Linked DNA regions of Homo sapiens: all the other regions are linked to region 1. Evidence: promoter capture Hi-C in 16 types of primary human blood cells and fetal thymus (Javierre and others, 2016). All regions are on one chromosome and are shown on one strand. The core of a region is centred on a gene start or on the middle of the fragment in contact, and the rest is flanking DNA. Distances in the headings are between cores, read along the strand shown.

Region 1 (2,510 bases), core at 5-2,504:
AGCGGGGGCGCAGCCCGCAGCCCACAGCCCGCGCAGGGCGGCGCCGCGCCGGGCAGCTACAGCCACTCCGGCGTGCGCTGCGGCACTGCGCTTGCGAGGCGCAGCTGCCGCAGAGGAGGTGCCGGGGTGTGCTGGTTGCCGCGGCAGCGCGGAGCGAGTGGGCACCGACTTTTAGAGCCCACCCGCGCCCCGCCCCTAGCCCGCCCATCGCCGCAGAACCCCTACCGCCTGCTCCCTTGCTCGCCGCAGAGCCCCTCCCAGCCGCTCTACCACCGCCATGGCCACAAAGATGGGGTGCCCCTCTAACAGTGGCTCCTTTAGGGGGCACCTTCAGGGGTGTCGAGCCCCCTCCCCAAGACCCCGCTGCTCCCTCGTTAACCGCCAACCCTGAGCCCGAGATTCTGCTGCAGAAACCCTCCCCTGATGAGTTAAGGCCACGGGCAAAAACAGCAGACCCCTGAGTGCCCCAACTCTTTCCTTAGACCACCCACAAACCCCACAGGCCGCCCACAAACCCCACAGGCTGCCCACAAGCCCCACAGGAGGATGGCCGCTCGAACTAAGGGGCAGCAGGGCTCTGGGGTGCCGGCCGTGGCGCCTGCTCCCATCCCTCGTTCGAAGCGTGGGTACTGAACCGTGAGAGGTGGCGAGCCACGAGGGCCCTATGCGCCCTAAGCTTAACTACCGGTAACCACCAAGGGCACGAGCAAGCGGCTAGGGAGCAACAAGCTCTGTTGGACCCACCACCAAGCTAGTAAACAGATTCATGGGATGGCCACTATGGCCAAAGTTGCACAAAGTCCGGTTTCTCCCGCTCCAGCCACCGCCGCTGCGCGGGGCAGGTTTCCTTTACAGCAGCGCGACGTGGTCAGCATGCCAGACGCCTGGCCACAGCAGCGCCCTCGCAGCCCCGCTCGCTGCATGCGCCGGTCCGCGCTGCACAGAACAGTGGGCACAATTAGGAGAGCAAAGCCCCCTTTATTTACGTAAGATAGAATCACAATGCAAGGGCCCAGAGGCACAAGAAAGAGGGAGGAATTTTTCTAATCCATAATCCTTTAAAAGGCATCCCTTACGCCTTTGAAAAGTGTAGAGTATCACGAAGTGTCTGTGTTCATTTTCTGACCGTAAACTGAAATACTGGTGAACAAACGTGGGGTGCGAGCGGGTGAGCGGGGCGGCCGGCCGGTGCCCGCTGCATCCAGAGGGGGCGCTGCAGGCCTCCCTTCGGCTGCGCACGGCCCGGGCCCTCCGCGGCTCTGCAACTCTGCACCCCGAAAGGTTCGGTGCTGGACCGCGGGGCATCCAACCCGGGACCGGGGGCGACCCACGGACACTGAGGAAACTACCGCCTATAAGCCTATCATCAGAACCTCTGGCACAACACAGGTACACTTCTGCAGGGGTCTGGTTGCCCCCAGAAAAAGCACTCATGAAACAAATGCTGATTTAGCACCTACAGGGCACTAAGAACCGGGGGTGCGAAATAAATGAGAAATAGCCCCGGCCCGAAAACAACACACGGGCCATCTGGAGGGGAAGACAGACAAGAACTGCCACTTTGTAAAATTTTCCTTTTAATTTCCTAGCGACGTTTGTGGCAGTTGACCCACTCCTCCCTAACGTGTAAGGCCCTCAGAGGCAGAGCCCAAGTATTATTCACCTTTTGTAGCCCCAGAGCCCGCCACGGTGCCGGCCACAAAGCTGGCCCCTAATAAATACTGCTTGAATGAGTACAAGAATTTGAGGGCGCACAGGGGAGGAAGTAATTAAGGGGAGGGGCGAAGGGTGGTCTTGAATGATGAATAGACATTTACCAGAGAGACAAAGAACATTCCAGCCGGAGGGGACGGCTTTCGCAAAGCACCGGAGGCTCAGGGCCGCGTGTTTGGGGAAAACGGTTAGTCCTTTGAGCCGGCAAAAAATTAGGATAGCAAGAGAATTTCATCGTAGGGAATTAGGAATTTGTTCTAGAGAAAATGAGAAGCCACAGATGGATTTAAACTCTTTATGGCCTTAATTGGTTACTTAACAAAATTTAAATTAGTCTCTTTACAAGTCAAAGATTACCTATTTTAACTACCACTACCTTTTAAAGACTGAATTACTCTGCAAAATCTAAATCGGTTCTTCCAAAAAGGTAAAGGCTTTCCTATTTTAATAATAACAATAACAAAAGCCTTTGCATTATATATTTTTCATATTTATTGTTAATGGAAACTTTGAGTCCTACAAACAAATTCCACACTTTCATTCTCACCAGGCCAGAAACACCAGCATCCAAGATGAAGGCAATTTTCTGTTTATGGACTGAGTACCCCACAAAAGATCTTATTCTGAAGGCCATGGAACATGTCTACCCACATGGATCAAGTGGGCAGACTGGAGGAGAAACAGTTTAAAGGCCCTGGGGGAAGGAGGGAGCGCCAGGGAGAGCTCCTGAAGACAACAGGAATTCCAAGTCTGGCACTCGGGAGAAATCCTCCCTTCAGACATTATTGATGTCTGGC
Region 2 (2,510 bases), core at 8-2,507, 300 kb after region 1:
GTTATTAAGAAAGTGTGCCAAAAGCTCCCGTTGATTGTCTTCCATTAAATGTTTTCTTGCAATTCTGTCAGATTTGCTAAGTATACATACGAGATTACGTTAAATGCATGTAAATTCAGAATTGTGAATATCATTCTGGTGAATTATGCCACTTATCTTTATCTCTTAGGCTTTTTGCCTTAAAGTCTATTTTGTCTGACATTGACACATCTATATTAATTTCCTTTTGGTTAGTATCTGGCTGGTATATCTATCTCTATCCCTATACTTTTAGCCCTTCTATACCCATGGGTTTTCGAAAATTAAGTATTTTGTGCAAATTAATAAATGATTAATAAGTATTTTGTGGGAAGCTACTGATCTAAAACTATATAGTTATTTGGTCCCCATCAAACTTTTTTTTTTTTTTTGAGACTAGGTCTCACTGTTGCAGTGGTGCAGTCTTGGCTCGCTGCAGCCTTGAATTCAGCGCTCAGGTGCCTCTCCCACCTCAGCCTCCTGAGTAGCTGGGACTACAGATGCATGCCACCATGCCATGCTAATTTTTGTGTTTTTAGTAGAGACCGGGTTTTGCCATGTTGCCCAGGCTGGTCTCGAACTCCTGAGCTCACACAATCCACCCACTTTGGCCTCCAAAAGTGCTGGGATTATAGGCGTAAGCCATTGTGCCTGACCCCATCAAACTTTGACTTACTAGTTCTAACATCCTTTTAAGATTATTTTCAAAATTATTACTATGTTGGTTGTCATGGAGCTTTCCAATTTCATCATTTCTTCTATGTTTATTCCTTTAACATTTTTCCTTTTTTTTTTTTACTGTAATACAGTATACATAAAATTTACAATATTAGCCTTTTTTTTTTCTTTTTTTGAGATGGAGTCTTGGCTCTGTCGCCCAGGCTGGAGTGCAGTGGTGCGATCTCGGCTTACTGCAACTTCTGCCTCCCAGGTTCAAGCGATTCTCCTGCCTCAGCTTTCCAAGTAGCTAGGATTACAGGCATCTGCCACCATGCCTGGCTAATTTTTGTATTTTTAGTAGAGACAGGGTTTCCCCTTGTTGGCCAGGCTGGTCTCAAACTCCTGACCTCAGGTGATCTGCCCGCCTCGGCCTCCAAAGTGCTGGGAATTACAGCCGTGAGCCACCGCGCCTGGCCCAATATTAGCCATTTGAAGTGTTTAATTAAGTGGTGGTAAGTACATTTACATTATTGTGCAGCTGCCTTTTACATTTATTTGTTGGTATTCTGTAAGATAAAGGTTTCTTCTCCCTAATCATTCACTTATGTTGACGATTTGATTGTCTCAGATTGGGCTAGTGGGATCCTCTGTAAGCTGACTTCTCTGTTCTTTTGACATGACACTATCATTCTTTGAGCTAATCCCCCTGCCCGCGCCACCTTTCTAGCACCACAAAATAGGTCAGGCTCATTTTGTGTTTTCCCTGGCTAGCTCCAGAGTCAGTCTGTTTCTCTAAGAGCCCTGATTCCTTTTAATGGAGAATGATACTTAGAAATTATTATCTGGGCACTGGGCACACTGTTATTATTGAGGTATCATTACTCCAGGTCCTCTAGGAAATATTTGTATGGACATATACACAGATATATGTACACACACACATCTATATGTGTTATTCTATGTTTTTAAAAAACCATGAGTTTATAATGTTACTTCTAGTTCCAGTCCAGCTATACAGTTTATTCTGTCCTCCCCACTTTTCGTATTTGTAACTTTCTCCAGTAGTGAAAAACCAGGCCCTCATATTCTCTCTCTCATGCACACTTTTTTGCTGAATCATTTGAAAGGAAGTTGCGGGCATCATTCCACTTCATTCCTGAATATTTCACATGCATCTCCTAAGACCAAGACATCTTCCTTTATAACTACAATATGGGCTGGGCTCAGTGGCTCACGCTTGTAATCCCAGCACTTTGGGAGGCTGAGGCAGGTGGATCATGAGGTCAGGATTTTGAGACCAGGTCAGGATTTTCTGACCAACATGGTGAAACCCCACCTCTACTAAAAAATTAGCGAGGCTTGGTGACGCGAGCCTGTATCCCAGCCACTCTGGAGGCTGGGGCAGGAGAATCGCTTGAATCCGGGAGGCGGAGGTTGCAGTGAACCGAGATCACACCACTGCACTCCAGCCTGGGTGACAGAGTGAGACTCTGTCTCAAAGAAAAAATAAATAAATGAATAATGACAATATGATTGTCATGCTTAAGATACTATGGGTGTTCATATTCACATTTCCCCAGTTGACCCAATACTGACCCTTGTAGTGCTTTTTTTTTCTTTTATTGATGCAGGATCCAATCAGGTATCACATATTGCATTTACTTGTGCTTCTGTTGTCTCCTTAAATCGAAACCATTTGGATAGTGTGGGTTTTGTGGGATTTTTTGTTTTGTTTTCTTTTATGACATTTACATTTTGAAGAGATGAGGCTGTTGTTTTGAAAATTCAGATTTGTTTGATCATTTTGTTACTGTTAGATTCCGTTTAAATAT
Region 3 (2,510 bases), core at 4-2,503, 280 kb before region 1:
TGGTGTATTAGTCCATTTTCAAGCTGCTGAAAAAACTGCACAATTTACAAAAGAAAGAGGTTTAATTGGACTTACAGTTCCATGTGGCTGCGGAAGCCTCACAATCATAGCACAAGGCAAGGGGGAGCAAGTCACATCTTACATGGATGGCAGCAAGCAAAGAGAGAGCTTGTGCAGGGAAACTTCCATTTTTTCAAAACCATCAGATCTCGTGAGACTCATTCACTATGACAAGAACAGCGCAGGAATGACCCATCCCCATAATTCAATCAACTCCCACCAGGTTCCTCCCACGACATGTGGGAATTGTGGGAGCTACAATTCAAGATGAGATTTGGGTGGGGACACAGGCAAACCATATCATGTGGATACTAAAAGAACCTACCTTATGGAATTTTTATGAGGATTTAATTATGTAACAAACAGAGGCAGTACATAGAAATCTCTCAATTCTATGTATATGACATATCATCATATGTCAATATGAACTATTAGAGTTAAAAATTTAAAACATAATATCATTTACATTAGTACCAAAAAGCAATGAAACACATAGGTATAAATTTAACAAAATTTTTACAAGATCTTTGTGAGACAAATTACAAAACTGTGGTGAAAGAAATTAAAGAAGATCTAAATAAATGGAGAGAGAGTCTATGTTTATGGATAAGAAGACAATATTTTTAAGATGCCAGTTCTTCTCAACTTAATATATAGATTCAATGCAATCTTGATCAAAATCCAAGCCAGTTATTTTGTGTACATTGATAAACTGATTCTAAAGTTTATATGAAAGGCAAAAGATCCAAAATACTCAGAAAATACTAAAGAAGAACAAAATCAAAGGACTGACACAACCTGACCCCACGACCTACTATAAAGCTTACAGTAATCAAGATAATGGGGTATTAGTGAAGGAAAAGACAAATAGGACAGGTGTGGTGGCTCATGCCCATAATCCCTGCATTTTGGAAGGCCAAGGTGGGTGGATCACTTGAGCCCAGGAGTTCAAGACCAGTCTGGCAACATGGTGAGACCCCATCCCTCATATCTACAAAAAATACAAAAATTAGCCAGGTTTGGTGGCACATGCCTGTGGTCCCAGCTACTCAGGAGGCTGAGGTGGGGAAACCACCTCAGTCTGGGGAGGTCAAGTTTGCAGTGAGCTGGGATCACACCACTGGGCAACAGAGACCCAGTCTCAAAAAACAAAACAAAAGCAAAGAATAGACAAATAGATCAGTAGAACAGATGGAGAGCTCAGAGATAGACCCATACAAATATAGTCAACTGATGTCTGACAAATGAGTTAAGGCAATTCAATGGAAAAAGAATGGTGTTTTCACCGAATGGTGCTGAAGCAAGTGGGCATCCACATGCAGGAAAAAAAAAATGAAAGAAAGAAAGAATCTAGATACAGACCTTACATCTTTCATAAAAATTAACTCAAAATGGATCATAGCTCTATGTAAAACAGAAAGCTATAAAACTGCCTGAAATATTTAACATAGTGGAAAATGTAGATGACCCTGGGTTTGGCAATGAGTTTTTAGATAGAACACCAAAACCGCAATTCATGAAATAAAAAATTGACAGCTTGAACTTCATTAAAATTAAAGCTTTTTGCTCTGTGACATACATTGTTAAGAGAATGCAAAGGCAAGCCACACACTGGAAGAAAATATTTGTGAAACACACATTTGATAGAACACATATCCAAAATAGACAAATAATTCTTAAAACTCAGTAATACGTGGCCGGGCACAGTGGCTCACGCCTGTAATCCCAGCACTTTGGGAGGCCGAGGCAGGCAAATCACAAGGTCAGGAGATCGAGACCATCCTGGCTAACACAGTGAAACCCGTTCTCTACTAAAAATACAAAAAAATTAGCCAGGCATGGTGGTGGGCGCCTGTAGTCCTAGCTACTCCGGAGGCTGAGGCAGGAGAATGGCGTGAACCCGGGAGGCGGAGCTCGCAGTGAGCCAAGACTGCAACACTGCACTCCAGCCTGGGTGACAGAACGAGATTCTGTCTCAAAACAAAACAAAACTCAGTAATAAGTAAACAAACAATCTAATTTTAAAACAGGCAAAAGATCAGAACAGATGTCTCACCAGAGAATATATGGCAACAAATAAGCATATGAAAACAAAATAAATTGTCATTAGGTAATTGCAAATTAGGATAACAATGAGATACTGCTACACTATTAAAATGGCTAAAATCCAAAATTCTGAAAATATCAAATGATGATGAGGATGTGGAGCAAGATGTGGAGCAACAGGAACTCCCAGTCATTGCTGACGGGAATGCAAACTGTTACAGCCACTTTGGAAGACAGTTTGGCAATTTCATACAAACGTAAATATAGTTTTACATTACAATACAGCATCTGTGCTCCTAGGTATTTACCCAATTAAGTTGAAAACTTATGTGCACACAGAAACCTGTAAATGAACGTTTATAGCAGCTTTATTCATACTTTCCAGAAACTGGAAGCAACCAAGA
Region 4 (2,510 bases), core at 5-2,504, 280 kb after region 1:
TTTTAAGATACCACTTTCTGGCCAGACACGGTGGCTCATGCCTGTAATCCCAGCACTTTGGGAGGCTGAGGCGGGCAGATCACAAGGTCAGGAGATCGAGACCATCCTGGCTAACACGGTGAAACCCTGTCTCTACTTAAAATACAAAAAAAATTAGCCGGGTGTGGTGGTGGGTGCCTGTAGTCCCAGCTACTCAGGAGGCTGAGGCAGGAGAATGGTGTGAACCTGAGAGGCGGAGCTTGCAGTGAGCAGAGATTGCACCACTGCACTCCAGCTTGGGTGACAGCGAGACTCTGTCTCAAAAAAAAAAAAAAAAAGATACCACTTTATAAAAAATGCTTTTGGAAGAGGCTTAAATATTTTAAATTTAATATGTATCACTTAGGTTATAGAAAAGGAAAAAAATAAATTTAATATATGTAAAGAAAATCAAAATAATTGGAAGTTTATAAACCTAAAAGTTAACAGTAGTTGGTTATTTCTACATAATCTGGAGTGATTTTTATTTTATTTTGTCTTCTGCCCTATAATTTCCACATTTTCTATATAATGTGTACTTTTGTAATAGACAGGAGAAGGTATTTAAAAACACTTATTAGGCTTATATCATTTCCACAGAAAGCTCTCACATTTGATGTCAAATCAAAACATAGCCACAAAATCAAAAGAAAGATTTTGCATTAAACTAAGTGGGATCATATGAACTGTGGTTACGAAAAGCATTTTATTAACTGTCTTTGTGACTCAGTGAGTGAAAACAGCAGGAGTGCCTGCCCTGAGGGGCAGAGTAGAAAATGTGGGCCGTGGCTCTCTTTCTGCCACTAACAACTCTTGATTTTTCCAAGCCACTTAACACCTCTTAAGCTCAGTTTCCACATAAGCAAAATAAGGTGTTTGGATTACCATTGTCCAGAAAAATACCAGCACTAGCAATCTGAATAAACACAAAATAAAAATATAAACTAAATATAGTATTTATAGTCTGAAAGCAAAAGGGTAAATGCCACTTTAAAAAGTGGCAAATTCAGAGGAAATCAGCGTGCTTCATGTTGGAGGATAATTACCACCACATTTCCATCGTGCTTTTACCATTACTTCAAGGTTTGTAAATAAAGCCTCATAGTTTAGCAGAGAAAATGAAGAAGTTCAAAGTGAAGGAAAAATTCCATCCTCCTTTACTAGCTCTCATATTGTTCTCAGATTTCAAATCTGGGACCCTTCAGAAGAAGCAGTCTAGCTGATTGTAGCTGCCACAAGGGTACAAAGTGAAAAACGAAACCTCTAAAATAATTAAGGTTTTAATCAGGACTGAGTAGATCTAAGTGGACATTTCAAACTATGCTTTGAAGCAAACAAATAATTTGACAGGAAATCTGGGTATATTCCCCTTCTGTCACTAACACTTTTGTGACATTGGACAAGTCACTTAATTTACTTGGGGCTTATCAATAAAAAAATGAGTGGGGGAGGGATAATGATAACTTACTTGCCTACAAACAGAAGGCTGGACCACATGCTCTCTTGAGGTCCTGGAAGCTCAAGGCTGTATGACTCCCAAGAGCTGATGCAAGCAAGGGAGCAGAAAAAATAGCTTAGACTGGGCCAGGCGTGGTGGCTCACGCCTGTAATGCCAGCACTTTGGGAGGCCGAGGCGGGTGGATCACGAGGTCAGGAGTTCGACACCAGCCTGGCCAACATGGTGAAACTCCATCTCTACTAAAAATACAAAAATTAGCTGCGCGTGGAGATGCACGCCTATAATCCCAGCTACTCAGGAGGCTGAGGCAGGAGAATCACTGGAACCCAGGAGGCTGAGGTTGCAGTGAGCCAAGATCGTGCCATTGCACTCCAGCCTGGGCAACAGGGCGAGACTCCGTCTCAAAAAATAAAAATAAAAAAAATAGCTTAGACCTCTTAATTCATGATGAAATTTTTTTGGTAATTTTCTAAAGTAGCTTTGCTTGCCAGGCCAAATTCAATATACTTAGCTAGGGAGTCTAAGACACATATAAGCTATCATTATTCTAAATCTCCTTTTGGCAAAGTATTTACCTTAAGAAGCATTTAGACTTTAGATGAAAGTTCTTCACCAGGAGGTGGTGGTTATCAAAGAGTCTTTGATTAGAATGGAATCCAGCTGGCATGGACATAACAAACCTTCTCCACCCCATCCGAGCTCATAGAGCATTAAGTCTTACCACTGCCAGCCCAGGCCTATGGCTATAATGCTAAATGATGGTGGTTTTCTTAATCATCAGCCTGGTATTAATGGCCAGCAAGGATATCATGTCAGCAAATTATAAGAGCTTGGTTACGGCTGGGCGCGGTGGCTCATGCCTGTAATCCCAGCACTTTGGGAGGCCAAAGCGGGCAGACTACTTGAGGTCAGGAGTTTGAGACCAGCCTGGCCAACATGGTGAAACCCCATCTGTACTAAAAATACAGAAGTTAGCAGAGCGTGGTGGCTTGCGCCTGTGGTCCCAGCTACAAGGGAGGCTGAGGCAGGAGAG
Region 5 (2,510 bases), core at 3-2,502, 260 kb after region 1:
GAACAATGGAACAAAATGGAAGAAAGGAAAAGAATCAACATAGGCTACTTCAGACCCTTTCTGTATCTGAAGGGGTACAATCAGAGAAAAGAGACAAAAAGACGCTGACCCTAAGTGGCATTTCTCCAAGCCCTTTCGTCTCTTCCTCAATCCTCTGACCTGCCAGTCAGTCTTACTAACCCTGGCTGTAGACCCTTCCACTAGGACCTGGTTTTTATCTCTCCACTTCTCCTTTTGTGATTTACACTAATTAGTAGCAGAGTTAGCTCTCAGCCTGGTGTTCTCACTGCTAAATCAAGATTTGAACACGTGAAACTTCATGGTGACAGAGGGCCCTAATAAACAAAGACAATTAGAGACAACAGGCCCCTGCAATAAGGCGGCTTGAGGAACAGCTTGTGAAAAAGGCCGAGCTCAGAAGATGAAAGAACTGGAAAACAGTATTGCTCAGGATCATAAAATTTTTGTTTAAAAAAAGGATTTCATGCATTATCCCTTTGTGCACTGAGTGGAAATTTGCAATAAGAAATAACGAGAAAGGACAAGTATAATTTATTTATAATGCATCTTTCTCTTGCCAACTTCCCTGGGCCTCTCCAATAACTGCCAGTCTACATACAAAAAAGGTCAGCTTTCTATTTTCATCTGAGGTTTTGTTAAATTTAGATGGTAAGTGCAACTCTTCTTTACACCAAAAAGTGCCTATTATTTAAGATTCAGTTGGTATGTAATAGATATTTGGGGGGGAAAAAAGCATTTTCTTCCTTTTGTCTTCCTCTAATAGTATAGGAATGTATGGGCCTGATTTATATTTCCCCCACCCTCCCACCCACCTCTTTGACCTCTATCTTTTCCTGACAGATAGAGAATATCCAGGTGGCCTGGTACTTGGAAACTTGTCAGATGTTATTCAAAGCAATAAAAAACACATCATGCAAGTCTTCGGCATATTGTTACAAGGAAACCCTGTTTAGAATCCACTAATTGGGAATTTGTGATAATTTGAGGAAGGGTTTGCTGAAGTTAACCTTTGTACTATCTATGAAAAAAAAAGTTCACTGAAGTTCTGAATAGTAGTGTAAACAAGATTGGAAGGGGAATAATTATCTGCTTAAAAGAACCAGTTGTTTTGAAAAGCTTTAGAAGTATTCTTTTACATACAAACAGGGTAATTATGATTTAAACAAAGGCTGGCCTGTTTCTTAGGCTTCTTTGAAATGTCAATTACAAATAACTCTTGTCTATTCACCAAGCCAAAACCCACCCCTGTGTACCAGGCAACAGTTGGTTAGCTTGCTTCCACTTTTTGTATTTGAAAATAATAAACCTGAAGTTCTTTTAAAGTAGTATAATTTAATTCAAGCTTTTCACTAATTGAGACGGTCCATCCTATAGTGTGGGTGAGGATTTACTAATTCCTAGCAGACAATTGGGAAAGCATGGAGTGATAGTGCCTTCACTAATTTAGTGGTATTGCTAGATGATACAGGAAAATCTACAAAGAAAACTACTCTAGAGCAGTGACTTTTGTTTTTATCTTTTTTTTTTCTATTTTTAAATATTTTTCTAGAGACAGGGGTCTCACTATGTTGCCCAGGCTGGTCTCTAATTCCTGGGCTCAAGTGATCCTCCTGCCTCAGCTTCCTAAAATGCTGAGATTATAGGTGTGAGCCACTGTGCTCAGCCCTTTTCTCTTATCACACATAATAAGAAATACATTTTACATTGCAATTCAGTACACACACACTTAATAATACTTACCCTTGTTATGTGTGATATGCTATTACTTTCTATTATTTTTATTTATTTATTTTTTTTAGACAGAGTCTTGCTCTGTTGCCCAGGCTGGAGTGCAATGGCATGATCTCAGCTCACTGCAACCTCTGCCTCTCAAGTTCAAATGATTCTCCTGCCTCAGCCTCCCAAGCAACTGGGATTACAGGCGTGTGCCACCATGTCCGGCTAATTTTTGTATTTTTAATAGAGACAGAGTTTCGCCATGTTGGCCAGGTTGGTCTCGAACTTCTGGCCTCAAGTAATCCGCCCACCTTGGCCTCCCAAAGTGTTGGGATTATAGGCGTAAGCCACCACACCCAACCAACTTTCTGTTTATTATTTAATAAATGCGAATCATGACCCACTAAATTTATTTCACAATCTGCTAATGGGTTGTCATTTTCAAAGTACTACTTCTAGAATGTGTTGGAAGATAGCACTCCTTCATTAGATAAAGGAGTGGCACTGGGGAAGAGTCGTAGTTGCTATCAGGTTTTCTTGATGGTGTTCAGCTTGGTGTAGAGCCCACACCAGACTCTGCACAAAAGCAACATCCAGCCATGACTAGTGTCTGCAGTCCCACTTTCATAACCGTCTCTTCTCACCAGATCTGTACCTGACCATGGTTTTGCTCCTCTTTCTATGGTTCACCATGTCCTGGGATGATGGAGCAAGGTAGCCCACTCACATCAGAGTTCTTACTCCCCATGCGGTCTGAACCCAGATCCCCTCCT
Region 6 (2,510 bases), core at 4-2,503, 260 kb before region 1:
GTGAGAAGGCTGGAAAACAAAGGGGAAAAGACATAGCAGCTAAAGCTGGTCTGAAGGCAGAGCTGTCCAGCCACCAGGCTGAACACCCATTATTATGTCCTCACACGTGACCGAGTGTTGTTTCAGGACTGCTTCGCTATGTCTGTCCTCCCTCCGCATGGCACCCTGATACTGTGAGCCTTCCAGTCGTTTTTCTTTTTAATAAAATGTTAAAACGAAATTGAGATCATGTCATACTTACAGTATACAACCTTGTTTTTGCTTTATAGTTTGTAACATTTGCAGGTCATTATATGTTTTCTACATTAGCAATTTCCTGGCTGTGTAGAGGTTCACTGTAAATAAATAGGTATCATAATATAATTCACCAGTTCCCTATTTGGAAGCATTTATATTGACTGTATTGCCTTCATAGTACATTATATCACTTATTCATATAAAAATAATTATATTTGTTCCATTTGATATTCTCATCCTGAATTCTATTTCATGTGATTTTAATATTAGCATGCATGGATGGGTTCTTTGGGTTGCATTTGCCTCTGATATTCTTGCCCATCTCATTACTTTTCTACCTTCTCTGTCAATTTCATTTTGCAGTTTCTCCTTTTGTAAACAGCTTACGACTAAATTGTATTTTTTTTACTCAATCTGAGTCTTTTGTGTTTTGAAAGATATTTTTAAGCCACATCTGTCATGACAAAAGTTATACTTGGTGTTTGTTCTGTCACTTTATTTTATGGTTTCTATTTGTAATACTTCCTGTTTCTTATTTCTTTTTTTACTGTAGTAATCAAATTTATTCTTTCTTCTCATTCATGATTTGGGAATTATATACCTTTTTGTTTTCTACTTGGGCTTAGTTAATTTAAAGTGTATAAATATGTTTGAATTATGCCTCTTTATTTCACTAACTTAAAAGCTTAGTAAAATACCAAGATATTTGTTAAGCAAAATAAAACAAAACATAAACACATTTGCATTTTTAAAGTTCCAGTAAGACCAAATTTTGTTGAGTTAAATGTGTACCTTTCCTTCATGATCCCCTACTTTAAGAACCACTGCCTGAGCTTTGATGTGTATCTACCCAGACCTTCTATGTGTGTGTATGTGTGTGTGCATGTAGATTTGTAATTTTTTTTAAATAGGACAATATGCATGTTTTCTTATTTGCTTTTTTCACTTAATAATGCATTTCATTATAAATAAATTTACACAGTACTCTATCAGTACTCACATATGTGTCATCCATCCTGTCACAGCAGCCCACCCTACGGACTCACTTCATTTATGTAACCATTCCTCTGCTGATAGATGTTTAATTTGGTCCCTATTTTTGACTACTATGATGTTCTAATAAAAAATCTTTTATATATATATTTGTGCACCTATGTGAGTATTTTATAGTATTAATACCTAGAAGTGAAATTGCTGAGTCAAAAAGTATGCACGTTTGGGTTTTTGATAGCTACTACCAAATTATCTTTCAAAAAGTTGTACAGATGTATACACTCCCAAAAACTCTACGGGACTGTTGCCTCACACCCTTCCTGGTGTTGGGTTTTAACAATCTTTAAAAGCTTTGCCTATCTGATGGTTGAAAATGATATTGTATCATTGCTTTCATTCACAGCTCACTGATGGAAAGTGAGGTTGTGAATCTCTTCCGAGCTACTGACTCTTTGGTTTCTGTGAACTCCCTATACTTACCCTGTACCTCATGTACTTTGCCCACTTGTCTTTTATAGTATTTACCTTTTTACATGTTAATTTGTAGGCACCCTTTGCATTATGGATGTTAGTCCTTTGTCTGTAATATTTGCTGAATATATATATTCACAAGCCGATGGCCTAATTTTTTGTTTAGGGTGACTTTTGTCCTATAAAAGTTTAATATTTTGTAGTCATCAGATCTGTAAGTCTTTTCCTTCACAGCGTCTGAGTTTTCACACCTTCCTATCCTACTGTGCAATTACCAAGATAGTCTACATTTTTTCACAGTAATTTTTAAATTCACATTTTGAAATTCATAAACAGCAAAATTCTCTCTTTGTGTACCACTCTATGAGTTTTTAACAAATTTATACAGTCATGTAAGCACCCCCTCAAACAAGATACTGAACAGTTCTGTAACCCTCCAAAATCATTCCTGCCCTTCCTCCCACAGCCAGCCTGTGGCAACGACGGATCTGTTTTTAAGGGATTCCTCATACAAATGGAACCATAAAGTAGGTAGCCTTTATCTGACTTTTTCTCCTGGCATAATGCAGATGAAGTCCATCCACACTGCTGTGTGTCTCACAGTCTGCCCCTTTTCATTGCTGATTATCATTCCATTGCATGAAGTGCCAGTGCGTTGGTCCGTTCACCAGCAGAACAACATCTGGGTTGTTTCTGGTTTTTGATTTTGGGCAATTATGAATAAAACCATCATGAACAGTCACATAAAGGTTTCTGGGTGAATATAAGTTTTCAGCTCTCTTGGCTAACTACCTAGGAGAGGGATTACT

Evidence for each region. Contacts are between HindIII fragments. The CHiCAGO score rates a contact against its expected background, and 5 or more counts as called.
Region 2: a contact is called between a fragment that was not itself captured here and the fragment with the promoter of MESTIT1 in region 1, in 1 of 17 cell types (megakaryocytes). The highest score is 6.7, in megakaryocytes.
Region 3: a contact is called between a fragment that was not itself captured here and the fragment with the promoter of MESTIT1 in region 1, in 1 of 17 cell types (endothelial precursors). The highest score is 6.5, in endothelial precursors.
Region 4: a fragment that was not itself captured here is called in contact with the fragment with the promoter of MESTIT1 in region 1 in 9 of 17 cell types (megakaryocytes, fetal thymus, naive CD8 T cells and 6 more); the score reaches 11.6 in megakaryocytes.
Region 5: a fragment that was not itself captured here is called in contact with the fragment with the promoter of MESTIT1 in region 1 in 10 of 17 cell types (megakaryocytes, naive CD8 T cells, M1 macrophages and 7 more); the score reaches 14.5 in megakaryocytes.
Region 6: a contact is called between a fragment that was not itself captured here and the fragment with the promoter of MESTIT1 in region 1, in 2 of 17 cell types (endothelial precursors and erythroblasts). The highest score is 6.4, in endothelial precursors.

What each region holds. Positions count from the first base shown.
Region 1 is chr7:130,489,721-130,492,230 of GRCh38, reverse strand. It overlaps MESTIT1 (MEST intronic transcript 1, antisense RNA), which reads left to right and starts at 1,254. Exons shown (of 2, transcript NR_004382.2): 1 at 1,254-1,389; 2 at 2,264-2,510. MEST (mesoderm specific transcript) reads right to left here and starts at 146. Exons shown (of 12, transcript NM_002402.4): 1 at 1-146. RefSeq lists a silencer at 1,109-1,318. The HindIII fragment of the contact is 7,997 bases long and covers 679-2,510 here.
Region 2 is chr7:130,188,880-130,191,389 of GRCh38, reverse strand. All of the region lies in intron 6 of TMEM209 (transmembrane protein 209), which reads left to right. Among named protein-coding and RNA genes, the nearest start is that of TMEM209, 15 kb to the left of the region's middle. The HindIII fragment of the contact is 4,523 bases long and covers 1-2,510 here.
Region 3 is chr7:130,770,296-130,772,805 of GRCh38, reverse strand. All of the region lies in intron 3 of LOC105375508 (a long non-coding RNA gene), which reads right to left. Among named protein-coding and RNA genes, the nearest start is that of KLF14, 37 kb to the right of the region's middle. The HindIII fragment of the contact is 737 bases long and covers 885-1,621 here.
Region 4 is chr7:130,208,968-130,211,477 of GRCh38, reverse strand. The region is part of intron 1 of SSMEM1 (serine rich single-pass membrane protein 1); the gene reads right to left. Among named protein-coding and RNA genes, the nearest start is that of SSMEM1, 2.4 kb to the right of the region's middle. The HindIII fragment of the contact is 3,567 bases long and covers 1-2,510 here.
Region 5 is chr7:130,226,746-130,229,255 of GRCh38, reverse strand. No RefSeq gene overlaps it. Among named protein-coding and RNA genes, the nearest start is that of SSMEM1, 20 kb to the right of the region's middle. The HindIII fragment of the contact is 226 bases long and covers 1,140-1,365 here.
Region 6 is chr7:130,750,187-130,752,696 of GRCh38, reverse strand. All of the region lies in intron 3 of LOC105375508 (a long non-coding RNA gene), which reads right to left. Among named protein-coding and RNA genes, the nearest start is that of KLF14, 17 kb to the right of the region's middle. The HindIII fragment of the contact is 658 bases long and covers 925-1,582 here.